Linked DNA regions of Homo sapiens: region 1 is linked to region 2. The links are contacts of gene promoters, found by promoter capture Hi-C in human tissues and cell types (Jung and others, 2019). All regions are on one chromosome and are shown on one strand. The core of a region is centred on a gene start or on the middle of the fragment in contact, and the rest is flanking DNA. Distances in the headings are between cores, read along the strand shown.

Region 1 (6,147 bases), core at 290-2,789, 510 kb before region 2:
TCACCCAGGCTGGAGTGCAATGGCAGGATCTCAGCTCACTGCAACCTCCGCCTCCTGGGTTCAAGCGATCCTCCTGCCTCAGCCTCCCAAGTAGCCGGGATTACAGGTGCCTGCCACCATGCCCAGGTAATTTTTGCATTTTTAGTAAGGATGGGGTTTCACCATGTTAGCCAGGCTGGTCTCGAACTCCTGACCTCAGGTGATCCACTCACCTCAGCCTCCCTAATTGCTGGGATTACAGGCGTGAGCCACCATGCCCGGCCCAGTGGTCTTATTATTAGAAATAATATGGGTCTTGTTTTTTTTTTAACTATTATGTGTACATTATAGTATTAGGAAATAAGTACTTGAATTAATGTTTTTAAGAACCAAGATTTTCAAGGAAAAGAGAAAAGAAATAAGAATAAAAATTTCTAAAGTGTAGCCACAATCCTAAAAGCTTAAATTTGAATTGATTCATCTCTGTTAGAATAGCTGTTTTTAGACAGAATTTTAAAAACTAGAAAATATAATAACAAATATTGGTGAGGATGTGGAGAGACTGGAACCCTTGTTCATTGCTGGTGGGATGTAAGATGGTACACCTGCTATGGAAAACAGTACGGCAGTTCCTCAAAAAATTAAATATAGAATTACTATATGTTCCAGTAATTATGCTTCTGGGTATATGCCCAAAATAATTTAAAGCAGGGACTCAAACAAATACTTGTACGTCCATATTCACAGCATTATTATTCACAATAACCAAAAGGCGGAAGCAACCCAAGTGTCCATCCACCAATGGATGGATAAACAAAAATGTGGTAAATACATACAATGCAATCTTAGCCTTACAAAGGAAGGAAATTCTGACACGAGTTTCAACATGTGTGAACCTAAACGACATGATGCAAATTGAAATTAGCCACTCACAAAAGAACAAATATTCATAGATACAGAAGTAGGATGGTGTTTGCTGGGAGTTAGAGTGGGGTGGGGGTGGGAGGTGGGGAATAGGACATTAGTGTGTTTTGGGGGGGCTGGGTTTTTTTTTGAGATAGGGGTCTCTCTTTGTCACCCAGGTTGTAATGCAATGGCGTGATCACGGCTCACTGCAGCCTCAACCTCCCAGGCTCAAGTGATCCTCCCCCCTCGGTCTCTGGAGTAGCTGGGACTGCAGATGTGCACACCACACCCAGCTAATTTTTGTATTTTTTGTAGAGATAAGGTCTCCCTATGTTGCCCAAGCTGGTTTTGAACTCCTGAGCTCAAGCGATCCTCCCGCCTGGGCCTCCCAAAGTGCTGGGATTACAGGCATGAGCCACCACTCCTGGCTAGAGGTTAGTGTTTAATGGGTTCAGAGTTTCAGTCTGGGAAGGTAAAAATGTTCTGGAGATGGATAGTGGTGACGGCTGCAGAGTAATATGAATGTACTTAATGCCACCAAACTGTACACTTAAAAACATGGTAAAATTAAAATGGTAAAATTCATTATGTATATTATACCATAATAAAAAATGAAATTGGAAACAATAATATGAACTTATCATTTGTCTCTTGCTATGAAATACATATTTCTAAGCCTTGTCCACTGAAAAGGCCCAGAAACAACATAGCAATGAGCCACGATTACCAAGACTGTAGCTCCTGAATACTATTTCCCATGAACCGGAACCTGAACGCTTTAGAGAAATAACTGATTCCAGTTTCAGGGCAAAAAATATACAAGATGGTCTTGGGACATCTTGCTGAGTCAGAAAACAAAGACACTATTGAAACAAGTGGTTGTTTAAAAAACACGGATGCCAGAATGAAGGGGCTCCCATTGGCCAAAGATGGGATGATTTGAGCGTGGGAAAGGATCATGATTGTAACTGATTGGAACACATAAATCTATCCAAAACACATATAAATCCATGTGTTTGTACTAATACTTTAAAAATAAAAAGCCCCGGCGCAGTGGCTCAGACCTGTATGTAATCCCAGCAATTTGGGAGGCCAAGGCGGGAGATCACTTGAGGTCAGGAGTTTGAAACCAGTCTGGCCAACATGGTGAAACCCCCTCTCTACTAAAAATACAAAAATTAGTTCGGCCTGGTGGCGGGCGCCTATAATCCCAGCTACTCCGGAGGCTGAGGCACGGAAATCGCTTGAACCCAGGAGGTGGAGGCTGCAGTGAGCTTAGAGTGTGCCACTGCATTCCAGCCTGGGCGACAGAGATTCCATCTAAAAAAAAAAAAACATCAGTAGTCACCTTTGGAAGTTGCAAGTGCACTAATTCATTATTGAGAAAACCAACCAAGGGAAAGAAATTAAGCATTTATCCTGCCTTTTCTGTATAAAATCTATTTAGGGTAACCAAATAGTTGATTCCAGAAAATATATGCAGAAGAAATGTTAGAATTAGAATGAATTTTTTAAAGGTCTTCACCATCACCAATAGATGCTAAAACCATATGTGAAGGGTTGATGGTGAATTTATCGTAGTTGAATCAGGCTGACATCAGAATCCACTGTTCAATCTTAGCATTATGAAATAGCAAACCTCTACATCTAACTACCAACTTATAGGAAATATTGGGGATAGAGAAAAAATTAATTTCCACTATGAAGAAGGAATTAGCCAAATCCAGAATGTGGGGAATTTTGTAAGACAAACGACCAAGTACCTTTATTTTTTTAAATATATATATTTTTCAATGTTCCTGCAGAATTTTTTATTATTTTTTGTAGAGACAGGATTTCACCATTTTGTCTAGACTGGTGTCAAACTACTGGGCTTGAGCAGTCCACCTGCCTCAGCCTCCTAGAGTGCTGGGATTATAGGCATGAGCCACTGCACCAGGCCTCAACCTAGTCCCTTTAACAAATAAATAAGAGAGATTGTAGAATAAAAGATACTTTACAACTTAACCAAATGTCATGTGTGGACTTATTTAGATCCTGGTGTCCAGAGCATTGTCCTTCATGTCCCTGCTTGCAACATTCCCTGTGGGCCTTTGTGGATAAAATCTACAGCTGTGAAGATGTATTCTTTCCTGTCTTTTGGCTCAATTAGGGCTCAGGGCATTTACCTACACCTCACTTCAAGGCCTACACCTCACTTCAGCTACTGCTAGTAACAAATATGCAAGTCTGTACATTGGGCCAGTTCACAGAGGTTCCCTAGACTCTAAGGAGGGTCACTCACCCAGCCCATGACCATACTGTGGCTCTCAAGTCAGCACCCCTGCCTCCAGTTACCAAGGGTGGTTAGGAAATGAAATCTCAGAGTATCTCTCCACCTGGCCACACTGCCTTGCTGTGTTGGTGTTGGTGTGGTTGTGGCTGCACCCCAGGTTAGGAAGGGGCAACCTGGGAGGCAGACCCCTATCTGGGGAGTGGGAGACAGAGCTGCTACCCTCCTTTTTCTAACATACACTCCTTCCTGGATGAAGCTTAGAGAGAGAAAACAGGACCACCATCGCTTCTCCTGTCTCCCTTCCTTCTTCCCATCATTCTCTTGACCACACAATAATTTCTTCTTCTTTTTTTTTTTTTTTTTTTTTTGTATTTTCAGTAGAGATGGGTTTTCGCCATGTTAGCCAGGCTGGTCTTGAACTCCCGACCTCAGGTGATCCGCCCACCTTGGCCTCCCAAAGTGCTGAGTGCTGGGATTGTAGGCGTGAGCCACGGCGCCTGGCCTTGACCAGAAAATATTTTCTTCTGATTCCCTATGTTTTCACCTCCTGCTGTGATAGAGTGACAGATGTTATAGGTGGAGACGTGTCTTTCTTACACTACAGAAGAATTCTGTGAGACAAGTTTTCCAGGCTGGGCTTTCTTTTTTTTTTTTTTTTTTTTTTGAGATGAAGTCTCACTGTGTTGCCCAGGCTGGACTGCAGTGGCATAATCACAGCTCACTGCAGTCTAGACTACCCAAGTTCAAATAACCCTCCCACCTCAGCCTCCCAAGCAGCTGGGCCTACAGGCATGTGCCATCACACCTGTCTAACTTTATTTTTTGTAGAGTCAGTGTCTCATTATGTTTTTCAGGCTGGTCTTGAAGTCCAGGTTCAAGTGATCCTCCCTTTATGGCCTCGCAAAGTGCTAGGATTATAGGCATGGGCCACCATGCCCAGCCAAGCTTTAGATATTCTAATGAAGAAATGGAGGAATATGGCATATTCTTTCTCAATAATCCTCTTTCCTGTACCTAATGCTATATATCATACAGAAGTGGAACGTTACCACATTTTCAAAATTCCTCTGTAACAAATCATAATATCCTCAGCATACGAACGCCTTGGCCTACCGGGGCAAAAAGCATGTGCTCAGGAAGGCAAAAAGAAAAAAAAGCACATTAATAATTTTAATATTACCCTTAACACACACATACATTTAATTGGAATTGTAGAATGCATATTGTAAATTTTATATTTTCAAGTATACAAGTAATAAATTACTACACCTTCATTGAAAAAAAAAAAAAAACCCACCTACTGGTTTTTTTTCTGAGACAGGTATTGCTCTGTTGCTGAGGCTAGAGTACAGTAGCTTGATCTCAGCTTACTGGAGGTCCGGACCTCGGGGGTTCAAGTGGTCCTCCCACCTCAGCCTCCAGAGTAGCTGGGGCCATGGGCAAGCACCACCACACCTGGCTAATTTTTTGTATTTTTTGTAGAGACAGGGTTTTTCCATGTTGCTCAGTCTGGTCTCAAACTCCTGGGCTCAACTGATCCTCCCAAGTGGGCCTCCCAAAGTGCTGGGATTACAGGCATAAGCCACCTCACCCAGCCCTATCTACTGTTTTATAACTTACTTTTGCATTTAAAAACATAACTAGGCCAGATGTGGTGGCTCATGCCTGTAATCCCAGTACTTTGGGAGGCCGAGGCAGGCGGATCACCTGGGGTCAGGAGTTCAAGACCAGCCTGGCCAACATGGTGAAACCCTGTCTCTACTAAAAATATAAAAATTAGCCGGGTATGGTGGTGTGTGCCTGTAATCCCAGCTACTCAGGAGGCTGACTCAGGGGAATCGCTTGAACCTGGGAGGTGTATGTTGCAGTGAGCCTCGCACCATTACACTCCAGCCTGGGCAACAGAGCAAGACCCCATCAAAAAATTAATTAATTAATTAATTAATTAAAAACATAAGTGTGTGTGTGTGTGTGTGTGTGTGTGTACCGTTTTCCAGTGTAATTCATTTCCCCATGTAATTCCCATGTAATTCAGGTCAAAGCTAAAATATGCTTTTCAATCTCTAAATGATGTCTCATTATCTAGTGTACTTTTACACACTTAATCTTTAGCCAGTTCACTTTACTAGACAGTTAAGTTGTTTCCAGCTGAGCTGGGGTGAAGAGCCCTTGTGCACATCTTTGGGTATTTTTTTCGTTATAAGTTTCTAGAGGTAGAGTGTTTGAGTTAGAGAATACATGCACTTATGACTGATGTTACTAATTGCCTAACTGTCCTCAGAAAAGTCACAGCATTGTCTGGGTCTACCCGCAGGGTGTGACACTACCCATTTCTCCATACCTTCTCTAAGTTTACAATTTATAATGTTAAAAGTATAAATTTTGCAATTGTAAATTTTAAAAAACGTATGTCAAAATATCTTTACCTAGCTGGTAAATATTGGTTTAAACTTGTATTTAGTTCTAGTGAGATTGAAGATTTTTTCATGTTTTAATATGTATTGACTATTTGCATTTATTAATTTAAATGGTATCTTCAGATAAGAAAATTGAGTTTCAGAAAGTTTAAATTACTTGGTCAAGGACATACAGCTTGTGTGAGGCAGACAGAGAACTTTTCTTTCATATCCTAAAATGAAATGGAATTTTTCTTCAATTTGTCAGAGTGAGCAATAAAGCCCATGAGGTAAAGTTCTATTGAAGCCAAGAGTTCAAGGTCATATAACTAATAGATAAGTTCTTTCCAGCCATAGTATCTTTATAAAATATTACTTGGAGAATTGTCGTGAAAGTTTAATGAGTTACAGTTCTTTTCTTCTTCAATTTATAGTTCCAAGATAAGTTCTATCTAGACTGAGATTGGAAGATGAAGAGACTGTTAAAAAGTGTGTCTAGCTGCGCTGACACCATCTTTCTCCCCACCCATGGGTCACGAAAATCCATGCAGCTGAGATGCTGAAGGAGACTCTGGTACTCCATGACCTCCT
Region 2 (6,220 bases), core at 1,396-3,895:
AGTTTTGAATCTAAATGTGTTACCTTACAGCTCATATTTCTTGTTTCTTCATATTGTATGAATGTTTTGAAAGACTTGGTCAAATTCCTTGGAATTCTTTTCATCATTATCAAAGAATAAGGGAAATTTCCTGAAATGTTTGCCTTGAGTAGCAAATTTCTAGTGATGCCACTACCAGGAATCACATAAAGAGCTCAAAAGTTCTGTTAATACAGAGTGAAAAAAGCTCAACATTCCAGGTTAGCATTGACTTAAAATCATGTCTTAGTGATGAGGGAGGCTTTCACTTTCTGAATGACAGGAGGCAAGTTGCTTCATCTTTCTATGTGGGGAGACAGAAGATTTCTCAATTCTATAGGCTTATGAATAATATACCCCTTGTCCACCTTGTCTTCCATACCCACATCTCTAATATTAAGAAAATAACCTGCTCCCCCACAAAAATATCCTCAATATTCACCACTTCCAAATGGCTTCTCCCTGCAATTCACCAATTTCAAATGGCTTCTCCCTGCAAACAGGCTGTGGACAGTAAGAGATACCATGCCTAGTTACATAAGTATATCACTGCAAAATATAGAAACATCACTTATAATGAAAGTAATACTGTTTCAGAGTTCTAAAACAAGCATTTTCTTCCCCTCACAAAATATCACATTTCCATTTCCACAGTTGTGATGCTTTTCATTTACCCATGACGTTAAGCTCATCTTTAGCTCTTCTTCATTATGTGGGTCTGTGTTCTAGCTTTTACCTCAGTAGCAGTTTTTGTTTGCAGGAAAAAAGGAACTCTTTTGGTAGTCACTGTTTGTAATTGCGGCCTTGATATTCTAAGCCATTGAGTCACAATTAATAATTAGAAATTCTTACTAACTTTGCCCATATATTACCTATGAAGCAGTAGCCGTAGGAATGCAATTTTCCTGTAAATCCCTCCCTCTTATACAGCTCTAGTTCATTATTTAAAAGATTCAGGGTGAATTCAAGTAATTTCCTATGCTGCTATCATTTGCTTAAAGACCTTTTGCAATGGGTCTTATGTAAGAAGAAATGCAGGAGTTGCTTTGGTGAGGTTTATTTAAAGAAACCATTAAGTGCAAGACAGACCTGAAGAGCAGCATCAGTTGTGTATGGGGAAACAGGAGCTATGAATGCGTCACTTCATTTAGGTTGACAGAAAGAGGGCTAATACTTGAAAAAAATCCCTACACGATCTGGTGCCAGGCTACTTCTTTGGCCTCACCTCTTACCACTGCCCCCTCCTTCCGTGTCCTCCAGCCACAGTGACCTCTTTCCTGATCCTTGAACTTGCCAAACACTTTCCCTTCTCAAGGTCTTTGCCTTCAGGAGTCCCTCTGCCTGAAATTCTTTTCCCAGATAGTCATGGGACTGGTTCATTCTCATCCTTCAGATCTCTGCTCAAATGTCACTTATTCTAGGAAATCGTTCCTGGCCACCGTAAAATAGCACACCCCCTCCTCACTTTCTACTCCTTTTCTTTGTTATTATGTATATGGCAGCAGAAAACTATGCATTTTCTTAGTGGCAATTACACACCCCGCACATTATGCATTTAAAGCGTTGTTTGTTGTTTTGTCGCTTCCATCAGAATACAATCCAGTAGGGCAAGGAGTGTGTGGGGTCGTGTTCACCTGGTATCTCTGGGGACCTACAGCCCGGCACCTAGTAGACACTCAGTAAATATTTGAATGAATGAATGAGGCCCTTTGGCAGCCGGGAAGCCCGTCACAGCCGTTGTCTCCACCCTCTCCCGGGCTACACCAGGCCACGCCGGTAAAGTTGTTTCTCCTCTAGGAGAAACATTCGCTAGGCCTTGTTGCCAACCCGCAGGCGGCTGGGCGCTTCATCCCACCCTCACCCCTTTCCAGCCAAGGTGGCTGATGGGAGTCAGGCTCTCGAGGGCGCATTGCCACGAAACAGCGTGTGTGAGCGCGTTGTCCCCGGCCCCCGGCGCCACTTCCCCTCGGCCTAGCAGCCTGGACTGGGGAAGGACGGGTCTGCTGTACCCGGGAGGTGGAAGGAAAAGCCGAAAGCGGAGAAGTGTGCGGGAGGGGAGTCTCCGCGCGGAGGCAGCCCGGCCTCCTCCAGTGCAGGCTGCGCGCTGGGGAGCCAGCCAGGGTGAGTCACTCCCGGCCGCTTCCCTGGAGGGCGGCGGCCACACACACACCCGCCCATCTAGTGAGGGCCGGGCCCAGCGCTGGCGCCTAGCTCCAGCCGGGCACCAGCGTTTCGCGAGGCGCCGCCGCCTTAACTTCCTTGCGCGCTCACGCCCAGGGGCCGTCCCAGGAATCTCCACGCGCGCTCGCCGGCTTCCCGAGAGGCAGCTGCCCTGCGTGGCCCGCGCCTGCCGGTCCCGCGACCAGCACCGAGCGGCGCACGCGCACTGCAGGACGCGCGTCCGGCTCTCCCCCAGCCTCTATCCGGCCCGGTCTCCTGCCATTCGGGGAGACTGCAGGCCAACCGGGAGGCTGAGTTCGAAGCTAGCAGGGCGGCGAAGCCAGTGTCGCCCGCGGCGTTGAGAAGACGGTGTGGCCCCGGAGAGGGTGGAGACAACTGTGACGGGCTTCCCGGCTGCCCGAAGTGGGAGTGGTGTGGGGCTGCAGGAAGGAGAGAGGAAGAGGAGCAGAAGGGGGCAGCAGCGGACGCCGCTAACGGCCTCCCTCGGCGCTGACAGGCTGGGCCGGCGCCCGGCTCGCTTGGGTGTTCGCGTCGCCACTTCGGCTTCTCGGCCGGTCGGGCCCCTCGGCCCGGGCTTGCGGCGCGCGTCGGGGCTGAGGGCTGCTGCGGCGCAGGGAGAGGCCTGGTCCTCGCTGCCGAGGGATGTGAGTGGGAGCTGAGCCCACACTGGAGGGCCCCCGAGGGCCCAGCCTGGAGGTCGTTCAGAGCCGTGCCCGTCCCGGGGCTTCGCAGACCTTGACCCGCCGGGTAGGAGCCGCCCCTGCGGGCTCGAGGGCGCGCTCTGGTCGCCCGATCTGTGTAGCCGGTGGGTGTTATCTCTGCCTGGCTTCTGGGTGGGGGGCAGCAGCTGTCTCTCCACCCCCTTCCTACCTTTTGGTCCCGCCTGCCCCCTGCTAGTGGCAGCAAACTTCTGAGCCAGAAAAATCTTCCTCTTTAAGACGACACCTAGAACGAGTCTTGCTGGTGATATTTGCTTCCATTTGTGTCTTATAATTCCCTCGCTCCCGCCTCCTTATTCCTTTTTAAAATTTTCTAGACACTTAAACAGCCTAGAAAAAGCATTTGTTTCCCCTGGATTTATGTGGTAGTAGTTAACTGCTGCTTCTGTTTTTAGGTTTCAGAAGCAGGCAACAGGAACAAGATGTGAACTGTTTCTCTTCTGCAGAAAAAGAGGCTCTTCCTCCTCCTCCCGCGACGGTGGGTGTGCTGTCCTTTATCGCTGCAGTAAAGGCGAAGGTGTCTGGAGCTGGGAGTGCGTGCGTAGGGAAGGTTGGAAGCGTGTGAAGAGAGGCAGGGCTCATTGTTGCTTACTCTTCTGAAAATGTCAGTGCTAAACTTTTAATGTTGATCTGGGAGAGTAATTTTGGGGTGTTTTGTTGTTCGTCTTGGATCCTTTAAGAAACATTTTTTTGTTGGCTTTACACATAACGTGACTTTGCAGAGAAACGAAAAACGTTGTCCATTACCCTTTCTTCTTAAGCAGCCAGAGATTCTTAATCCTTTAAAGAGGAGTATTTCCAAGCAATAAGAGATAGCTTTTGGGAGAACACGTTAGCTATTCTTGCTGGGGTTTCTGCTACCACATTGAATGTTTCCTCATGGTTTTATCTGCCTAAGCTTGCTGTGTCGGTTGAATTTACCCAGTTTGTTTTCCAGTAATTACTAATCTGTTAGGAGAAACTCCATTTCTCTGAATGAAAGGGTAGGAGCGGCTGAGTATGGAGAAGGAAACTGGAAGTGGGAATAAGGGAAATGATTGCTTTTGGTTTCATAATAAGTTTGTACAGTGAGTTGTTGGGCTACTGCAAATAAAGATTTTGTATCCCTTCTCCAGAATGCTTGGGACCAAAAGTGTTTTGGATTTTTTTTAAAAATTTTGGAATGTTTGCATATACAAAATCAGACATCTTGAGGATGGGACCCAAGTGTAAATACGAAATTCGTTTGTTTCATATAGACCTTATTCACACAGCCACTAAGTCATTTGCAATATTTTTAATACGTCTGTGCATGAAACAAAGTTTGTATTAAGTACCTATGCGGGGAATTTTCCCCTTGTAGCATCATGTTGGTGCTCAAAATGTTTCAGATTTTGCAGCTTTTCAGATAAGGGATGATCAGCTTGTATTTTGATATAACACCCAGAACATTTGAAGATGAATAATCAATTTTTGGCCTCCCTTCCCCCATCCGCCTCACCTTATACCACTTTAAGTGTGAGAATTATTTGCTTGTACATGCATTTGTCTGTTGGTGTGTAACGTATGTACAGACTGGATGTATCCAGCACTTGCCTTAATAGTACATGTATTTACCTGAATAGGAAAGCTGCAGTACTTGCTGGCCAGAAGAGCACACCATGCTTGTTTTTGCTCTAACTGAATATCCTGTATTTGCAATTTATAGCAGTTTTAGGGACTCATTAGGGAATTTTGTGTGTGTGTGCCTTTGGTGATTTGAGACAGGTGTCTCAGATATGGGAAGGGAATATGACATTGTTTCTCTTTCACCTGGCTATTACTGAAAGGTGGGATGCTTTTGAGGCAGAATAGGAAAGTGCATTGGCTTTGGAGTGAGATCTGGATTTGAATCCTGGTGTTCTTGCCACTTAAGAGTTGCATTATTTACGGCTGGTCATGGTGGCTCACGCCTGTAATCCCAGCACTTTGGGAGGCTGAGGAAGGAGGATCACTTGAGGTGAGGAGCTTGAGACCAGCCTGGCCAACATGGTGAAACCCCATCTCTACTAAAAATACAAAAATTAGCCGGGCGTGGTGGTGCACACCTGTAATCCCAGCTACTCGGGAGGGTGAGGCAGGAGAATTGCTTGAACCTGGGAAGTGGTGGTTGCAGTGAGCCGAGATCTCACCACTGCACTCCAGGCTGGGCAACACAGCAAGACTCTGTCTAAAAAAAAAAAAAAAAAGAAAGAAAAAAAGAGTTATATTATTTACGACTCTTTTAGCTTCACTTTCTTATAAGATTGTTGTGAGAAGTGAGTAAGACACATGCAAAGTGGTAAACTGCCTGGCTGTCATAAAAGTCTTGGCTACTATCACGGCTGGGAGGCAAAGGAGATTCAGAGAAGGGCAGAATGACTGCATAAGGTGATCTGCCTGTAACTCGTGTTTCCTCCTTTCTAGTATAAAGAGATAAAGGACTTCAAGGTCTTAAACTGGTGAGGGAGTATTACAGCCTTTGTATGGAAAGGTTTGACTTTGTGTCTCTGCTTAAACCCCCATTGTGTTGCCCCTACCAATTATTGTGCTGCCCCCTTGTGGTTAACTGTGCTAAGACCTTTCTTTTGCTCTTCTCCCATTACATTTCCCACCCTTCCCCACTCCCTTTTAGACCCCTCCTCTTAGCTCCCAGTTTCCCAAACTGTGTGCCAAGGTGCCCAGAGCACCTCAGGCTTGAACTTGTGTTTTGAGTTGGTTCATGGTTTCAATATTAGATACCTACACCCGTTTCTACAATGTCATGTCTTTGTAAAGATGTATTTTCAGAGGTTGCTCCGATAAAAAGCAACTACTACATGAAAATGAATGTAGAACAGGAAATGACAGTGTGGTATTGTCCAATTTGATTCTAAGGTTTGATAAGTTCTACAGTGCTCTACACTAAGTTGTAAGGACATAACTACTAAGTAAGTTGTTCAAACCTATTTCTTTTGGCCTGGGGGTGTCGTGAAAAATTTGCTAAGACTCAGAGCTCCCTGAATGGGTTTGGAAACCTCTGCCTTAGCTTTTAGTTTGCTTTTCTGATAAAATTATTGATATAAAGCTAGTACCAGCTGATCATGGCTTAATATATTTCCTCTCCTATGTAATATGTTTATAACTTCTGCCCAGTTCTTTCATTTTAAAACTAATCCTATTGCTAACTTGTTGTACTAGTCACTTCCTGGTTTTTCCTGTACTGGTCTTCTGCTTCTACTTCTGTTCATCTCCTTAAACTCCGAATGCCCCAAGTGAAAGTTACCATTTTCTACCCCTTAATTTTCTTCTAATCATGTAGGCTT

The links. Contacts are between HindIII fragments. The study calls those that stand out against the background at their distance.
Region 1: a contact is called between a fragment that was not itself captured here and the fragment with the promoter of JAK2 in region 2, in 1 of the 25 tissues and cell types used here (aorta).

What each region holds. Positions count from the first base shown.
Region 1 is chr9:4,476,399-4,482,545 of GRCh38, forward strand. It overlaps a transcript of GLIS3 not described here. Among named protein-coding and RNA genes, the nearest start is that of SLC1A1, 11 kb to the right of the region's middle. The HindIII fragment of the contact is 4,442 bases long and covers 1-3,760 here.
Region 2 is chr9:4,982,627-4,988,846 of GRCh38, forward strand. It overlaps JAK2 (Janus kinase 2), which reads left to right and starts at 2,646. Exons shown (of 25, transcript NM_004972.4): 1 at 2,646-3,004; 2 at 3,314-3,396. RefSeq lists silencers at 599-728, 2,179-2,228, 2,269-2,348, 2,739-3,068 and enhancers at 1,697-2,530, 2,459-2,598, 3,399-3,448. The HindIII fragment of the contact is 10,820 bases long and covers 1-5,200 here.